Linked DNA regions of Homo sapiens: region 2 is linked to region 1. The links are contacts of gene promoters, found by promoter capture Hi-C in human tissues and cell types (Jung and others, 2019). All regions are on one chromosome and are shown on one strand. Each heading gives the region's core, a stretch centred on a gene start or on the middle of the fragment in contact. The rest is flanking DNA. Distances are from core to core; before and after follow the strand shown. Region 1 holds the start of UCP2 (uncoupling protein 2). Region 2 has its middle 6.4 kb from the start of CHRDL2.

Region 1 (3,703 bases), core at 152-2,651:
CGGAATGCACAGCCAGACAGAGCTCAGCGCAAAAGCTAGAGAACCTGGCGGAGGGAGACTCACAGTGCCACAAAAAAACTTTATCTTTTCTTTTTTTTTTTCTTTTCTTTCTTTCTCTTTCTTTCTTGTCTTTCTGTCTTTCCTCTCTCTCTCTCTGTCTTTCTTTCCTCTCTTTCTTTCTTTTTTCCTACATGGCAAGATCTCCTCATGGCAGAAATAATCTGCCTTGACTTCTGTTTCCACGCTGCTTCTGCCAGGACCATGCGCTCGGCGTGTTTTTCTTTCCGCTATAATTATCCAGGCCCATCCCAGCTCTGGTCCCCTCAGCTGTTCCCTGGCAGTCCCTTCTGCTGGTGAAAACACATATGGCGCCGGCCTGACCAGGGTGTAAGTGTGTGAATATCAGGAAGATGACTGAACGTCTTTGGGACTCCGTTTCCTCATTGTAAAATGGAGGTTAATACCAGCCTTCTTCTACTCCCCAAACGCACGTGTTTGTCCCGGCCAGAGGGCCCAATTGTTGGCTGTTCACGCGTCAGTTACCCCCACAGGACGGGTCAGCCAATTAAAGGCGAACCAGGCCCGGTCCATCTCCTGACGCCTTTTCTCATCCCAGGGCTGGACAGGCAGCTGGCCTGGGCCCGGCTCTGCCTTGTCACGTGCGGGGGCCGGCCCGTTTGCTTGTCTGTGTGTAGGAGCGTGAGGTCACGCTGGGTGCTCCCGCCCCGCCGGGGCCTTTAGTGTCCTGGTCCCTAAACGCCAGGCCGCTCCACCGGGGGAGAAGGCGCGAACCCCAGCCGAGCCCAACGGCTGTTGTCGGTTGCCGGGCCACCTGTTGCTGCAGTTCTGATTGGTTCCTTCCCCCGACAACGCGGCGGCTGTAACCAATCGACAGCGAGGCCGGTCGCGAGGCCCCAGTCCCGCCCTGCAGGAGCCAGCCGCGCGCTCGCTCGCAGGAGGGTGGGTAGTTTGCCCAGCGTAGGGGGGCTGGGCCCATAAAAGAGGAAGTGCACTTAAGACACGGCCCCGCTGGACGCTGTTAGAAACCGTCCTGGCTGGGAAGGCAAGAGGTGTGTGACTGGACAAGACTTGTTTCTGGCGGTCAGTCTTGCCATCCTCACAGAGGTTGGCGGCCCGAGAGAGTGTGAGGCAGAGGCGGGGAGTGGCAAGGGAGTGACCATCTCGGGGAACGAAGGAGTAAACGCGGTGATGGGACGCACGGAAACGGGAGTGGAGAAAGTCATGGAGAGAACCCTAGGCGGGGCGGTCCCCGCGGAAAGGCGGCTGCTCCAGGGTCTCCGCACCCAAGTAGGAGCTGGCAGGCCCGGCCCCGCCCCGCAGGCCCCACCCCGGGCCCCGCCCCCGAGGCTTAAGCCGCGCCGCCGCCTGCGCGGAGCCCCACTGCGAAGCCCAGCTGCGCGCGCCTTGGGATTGACTGTCCACGCTCGCCCGGCTCGTCCGACGCGCCCTCCGCCAGCCGACAGACACAGCCGCACGCACTGCCGTGTTCTCCCTGCGGCTCGGTGAGCCTGGCCCCAGCCCTGCGCCCTTTGCGCCCCCCACGCTTGTTCTGCGTGCGCTGCCCGCTCTTCCATTTACCTTCTCTCCCACCCAAGTTTGTACTCTTTTCTTTCTCTCGGTTTTATTTTTTGTTTTTGTTTGTTTGTTTGAGACAGGCTTTCGCTCTGTCTCCCAGGCTGGAGTGCAGTGGCGCGATCTCGGCTCACTGCAGCCTCCACCTCCCAGGTTCAAGCGATCCGCCTGCCGAGTAGCTGGGATTACAGGCGCCCGCCACCACGCCTGGCTAATTTTTGTGTTTTGTAGAGATGGGGTTTCGCCATGTTGGCCAGGCTGGCCTCGAACTGCTGAGCTCAAGCAATCCGCCCGCCTCGGCCTCACAAAGTCCTAGAATTTTAGGCATGAGCCTCCGGGTCCGGCCTGTGCTAATCCTTTCTGTCCTTGGTTCTTTATTTCTCTTCTCTCTTTTTCTTAGTCCCTTTTGTTCTTTCCCTCTCCCGTTCAGTTGGCTGTCGTTTGAGCCTCCACCTTTTCACTCCCTCCTTTCCACCACGATGCCGAGCCCTGCCTTGGATGGGGACCATCAGCGATGACCACAATGACCTCTCCCTTACCAGGCAGCTCCAGGCAGTGTTCCTGCACCGCCTTTCCCAGGGCTTGGGGGCTTTTTCTAGTGGGCTTTGAGCTGCTCAATCTGGCCTCTGCAGGGCCGGCTCCCAGCCCTTCCAACCTCCTCACAGCCCGACCTGGGACCTAGCCAATTCCCGGAGAGTCTCTGTCCCATCGTGACCCCCTCACAACTCTCCCACTCACCAAAGTCTGATGACTGTGCTAGGGGGTGCTTATATAGAGTACTGAGTGTTACAAAAGCAGAAGTCTGGATGAGAACCAATTTGTGATATTAAGCAGGTGGGGTGGGGGTGGGGAGTGTACCTAGGTTCATTTTCCGCCCTGCTTTTCCCCTTTCCAGTGTGTGCACTTAACCAGTCCCTGGGCCCTGTTCCCCATCCCCCTCCAAGGCATGGATTGGGTGGGCTTGTGTGTCTTGGGGCAGGTGGCCCTTTCTAAACTCTCTGCCTTTGCTCACCCACAGGACACATAGTATGACCATTAGGTGTTTCGTCTCCCACCCATTTTCTATGGAAAACCAAGGGGATCGGGCCATGATAGCCACTGGCAGCTTTGAAGAACGGGACACCTTTAGAGAAGCTTGATCTTGGAGGCCTCACCGTGAGACCTTACAAAGCCGGGTAAGAGTCCAGTCCAAGGAAGAGGTCTCTTGCTGCCTCCTAACCCTGTGGTCTAGGGGCAGGAGTCAGCAGGGCATTAACAAAAATAATTACCATCCCCACCCCCGACAGTGAAGTGGCTCTTTCCAGTTCACAGAGCACTCTCACACCTCCCCGCTCTCATTCTGGCCCTTCAGCTGACTCGGACAAGCCAAGGATCTTGGTCCCCATTTTATAAAGGAGAAAACTGAGGCCCACGTGTAACAGTGATTGGCCCCAAGTCATCCCGGGAGCCAGCAGAAGAGCTAGGACAGGAACCTATTGTTCTAACTTCATATTGATGCTAGCTTTTGACTATCCCTGAAACCGAGATTGGTAATCAGCCCGGCTCTGAAACTGGTTATTTGCTGGGGACTGTAAAATAGGATTAACTATTTCTAGTCCTGCATTTTAATTGCTGTTAGTAGGGCCATCTTACCCACCCTCTGAAGGACCTGACTTGGCAAGCCCAAGGCAACATTCAGAATATGGCAGCTGAACCTCTGTGCACTTGTCTTTGGGCAGCAGCTGGGTCTTATTCTTCTCTGGCCTTCACAACATCCTGCAACCCAGCTCAAGGTCAGGAATGTGACAGACTCATGTCATCATATCTCTGATGCCCAGAGAAGGGATACCATTTGCCTGAGCCTTCTCAGTACTGTTTAATCAGCCTGTGAGAACTTTCCTTGTGAAAGGCCCTGTCTGTGCCTGGGGCTGATAAAACAGCAAGAACGAACTGAGGAGCTGGGCAGCAGTGCAAAGCAAATACTACCAGCTTTGGTGCCTGTAAGTGTGGCTCTTACTCATCTCACATGGAAATAAGGGCAGCCACCTTGCAGGGCTGCTCTGAGGATTGAGCTAATACAGTGCCCTGGGCGTTGGGGTGGGGAAAGTTGTGGAGCACCTCCTGGGGGAAG
Region 2 (3,703 bases), core at 414-2,913, 760 kb before region 1:
TTTAATGCTATATCTCTATGAAAAGATTCTCTCCCAATTAGATTGTAAGAACTTGGGGCAAGGGACCATGTTCTGACCAACATTGTACATCTTCTCCTCTAGCACACTCTTCTGCAAGGCAACCTGTATGCCCAATACAAAAAGGAAGATTTCAACAAATATTGTTAAACTGCTATATGGCAAGTCCAATAATGGTTCCTGATAACACAGAGATGAAATATACCATCTCTGCCCTCATGATACTCCCTATCTAGGGAGGGAGACAGATACAACAACACCTATAATTTAAGAGATGAGCATTTAACAGTGATGTAGAAAAGGCAATATGGAGGCACAGAAGAGGAAGTGACTATGTACCTGGATGAAATACAGAATTAGGTCCTAAAGGAAGAATGAGAACTCATCAGAGAAGGGAAATGGGAATTACAAATAGAAAGAATAGCAGAATAAGCCAACACAAGGAGGCATGGAGGCATGTGTTCAGTGAAAATGACTCTGAGTAGCTACACACAGTATAGATAAGAAGTTGGACTGAAGCAGAGGAGGAGGAGTAAATAAGACTAAAAAGGAAGTCCGAGGTCAGCTGTAAAGTTGCTATTCATTTATTCAGTCATTCAACAACGTTAAATACTCCCATGTGCCGTGCAGTGCTGTTATTGATAATGATGGTGGTGAGATGATAATAAAAGTAAGGGGAATAATAATGATGATGAAAATACTAATGTGGGTGAATTCCAAGGATTTGGGGTCTTGAATCTAGGGTTCATTACTCATATGAATCAGATAACACAGATAAATATTCCATCCTCCATTTCTTTTCTTTCTTTTTTAAATTCATTTTCTATATCAATAGCACACCTACAAACATGGTGAACATTCCTAAAACCTGCCAGACTTTCCGTAAGAAGTGAGGCAAGCACCAACCCCACAAACTGACGCAGTACAAGAAGGGTAAGGATCCACTGTATGTCCAGGGAAAGCAGCATTATAACAAGAAGCAGAGTGGCTAGGGTGGGCAGACTAAGCCAATTTTCCAGAAAAAGGTTAAAACCACAAAAAAGACTGTGCTGAGCCTTGAGTGCATTGAGCCCAATTGCAGAGCTAAGAGAAGGCTGACTATTAAGAGATGCAAGCATTTTAAACTGGCGGGAGATAGGAAGAAAAGGGCCAAGTGACCTAGTTCAAAGCTTCATCTTTTTTTTAATTGTGAAGACAATAAAATATTGAAGTTAGGTTCACACACACATACAAAAAAATCTGTTATGTATTAGGCATTGTTCCAGGAGCTAGGGATATAGCAGTGATCAAAAATTAAAGTCCACAGCCAGACGCAGTGTCTCACACCTGTGGTCCCAGCACTTTGGGATGTCAAGACAGAAGGATGGCTTGAGCCCAGGAGTTTGAGACCAGACTGAGCAACATAGCGAGATGCTGTCTTTGTCTTTAAAAAAAAAAAAAAATAGAAAATAAAACAAAAAAAATTAAAGTCTAGGCTGTTGCAGAGCTTTTGTGCTCATGAGGGAGACAGATAATATACAAGTGAAAAATATGTTTCAGAGAATGATAAGAAAGGAAAGAAAACAAGGCAATAAGATAGAAAATTACTCAAAAGCAGGCATCATTACATAGATTGGACCAGGGAAACATCACTAAAGAAGTGACATTTGAGCTGAATGAAGTATTATCTGTAGAAAAGGTTGAGGGAAGAGCATTCCAAGCAGGAGAACTAGCAAGGGCAAAATCCCTGAGGAGGGACCAGGCAGCTTGATGTATCCCAGGGACAGAAAGAAGGCCCGTGTACTAGAGCATAGTGAGCACAGGGAGAGTGGTCTGAAGTCAGAGTGTAGACAGGGCCAGGGCATGGAAGGCTTTACATATTTGGCAAATGATTTGGATTTTATTCTTATTTATTTATTTAGAGACAGTGCCTTGCTCTGTTGTCCAGGCTGGAATACAGTGGTGCGATGTTGGCTCACTGCAGCCTCCACCTCCCAGGCTCAATCAATCCTCCCACCTCAGCCTCCAGAGCAGCTAGGACTACAGGCTTGTGCCACTACGCTTGGCTAATTTTTTAATTTTTTGTAGAAATGAGATCTCATGATGTTGGCCAGGCTGGTCACAAACTCCTGGACTCAAGTGATCCTCCCACCTTGGCCTCCCAAAGTGCTGGGATTACAGGTGTGAGCCACTGCACCCACCCTTTGGATTTTATTCTAAGTGCAATGGAGAGGTTTTAAGCAAAGAAGGGACTTCACTAATTTACTTTTCTTTTCTTTCTTTTTTTTTTTTTTTTTTTTCAGAGATGGGGTCTCACCCTGTCATCCGGGCTGGAGTGCAGTGGTGCAATCATGGCTCACTGCAGCCTTGACCTCCCAGGCTCAAGCAATACTCCTGCCTCAGCCTCCCAGGTAGCTGGGACTACAGGTACACACCATCATGCCCAGCTAATTTTTAAGTTTTTTGTAGGGACAGGGTCTCATTTTGTTGCCCAGGCTGGTCTCAAACTCCTGGGCTCAAGCAATCCTCCCACCTCAGCCTCCCAAAGTGCTGGGATTACAGGCATGACATATGACGCCTGGCCTGATTTACATTTTTAAAAGATAATTCTAGTGGCTCTTCATTCCCACCTTTAGGTGGACACAGTGCCTGCCACCTTCCAACTGCGTGACCCAAGTTGTATGGCACTGTTTTCTGGTGCTCTAACTGCATCCTCACAGACCTATTGAAAGAAGTCTCTGAGAACAAACTGCTTTTCTAAAGTCCCCTGAATGTGGAGGAGGTGAGAGAACAAGGTCCACTCTCTTTGATACTTGGTAAGTGAGGATGCCCCAGTAGAGGAGGCCTCTGGCCAGTGGCAGGGCTTAAGACTCTAGAAGAATGATGATCCCACTCCATGTCTTCTGCTGAAGACACCATGTCCCCACTCAGTTTTCCTCATGAGGGCTCTCTGACATTAAGGGCTATGTGTTCCCCATTCTGGTTTCCTGATACTTCCTCCTCTTGCTGTGTACAGATTGTCCTGGGAACAGAGGGCTCAATGAGGGAGAAAAAAGACTTGGGAATATTCACATAGCCATATGGAAACCTATGTAAATACGGATGAGCCTCACTTTAAGAAGATCCATTCACTCACATAGATACTGATCGAGCACCCACAATGCATCAGGCACTATTTCAGGTGCTGAGGATTCATTCATCCATTCTACAGACATTTTTATTTAGGCCAACTATATGCACAACATCTGGAGAGCCAAATAAATACAAAAATGATAGTAGGTTCTAAATAAATGTTTGTTATATAGGTGAGTAACTGACCCAGTTGAGGGGTGAGAGTAGGGTAGGAATTGTTCACAAATAAATTAACTGTGAAGGTCCTTTAAATAAGACTTTCCTCCTAATGTAAATAAATTGGACTCAGCTTTATTTATTTATTTATTTATTTATTTATTTATTTAAATGGTATAGGGTTTCACAATGTTGCCCAGGCTGGTCTCAAAGTGATCCTCCCACGTCAGCCTCCAGAGAAGCTGGGACTACAGACATGCCACCACCACTGGCTGAACTCAGCTTTAAAGAGGCTATTTGTTCATTGCATTTCAGCACCTAATCATGTAAAAGCAGCGTACTAGAGGGGGCTTTTACCAGCTAAGGAGAGCCAGGGGTTAAATTTTCAGAAATGTTGCAAGCTGGTTATTGAACACAA

The links. The method cuts DNA at HindIII sites, captures the fragments that hold promoters and counts their contacts. A contact is called where the count stands out against the background at its distance.
Region 2: a contact is called between a fragment that was not itself captured here and the fragment with the promoter of UCP2 in region 1, in 1 of the 25 tissues and cell types used here (dorsolateral prefrontal cortex).

Annotation. Positions count from the first base shown.
Region 1 is chr11:73,980,541-73,984,243 of GRCh38, reverse strand. UCP2 (uncoupling protein 2) reads left to right here and starts at 1,401. Exons shown (of 8, transcript NM_003355.3): 1 at 1,401-1,523; 2 at 2,612-2,768. RefSeq lists an enhancer at 64-564 and silencers at 821-980, 1,281-1,490. The HindIII fragment of the contact is 13,644 bases long and covers 1-3,703 here.
Region 2 is chr11:74,735,960-74,739,662 of GRCh38, reverse strand. It overlaps the pseudogene RPL36AP38. Among named protein-coding and RNA genes, the nearest start is that of CHRDL2, 6.4 kb to the right of the region's middle. The HindIII fragment of the contact is 8,028 bases long and covers 1-3,703 here.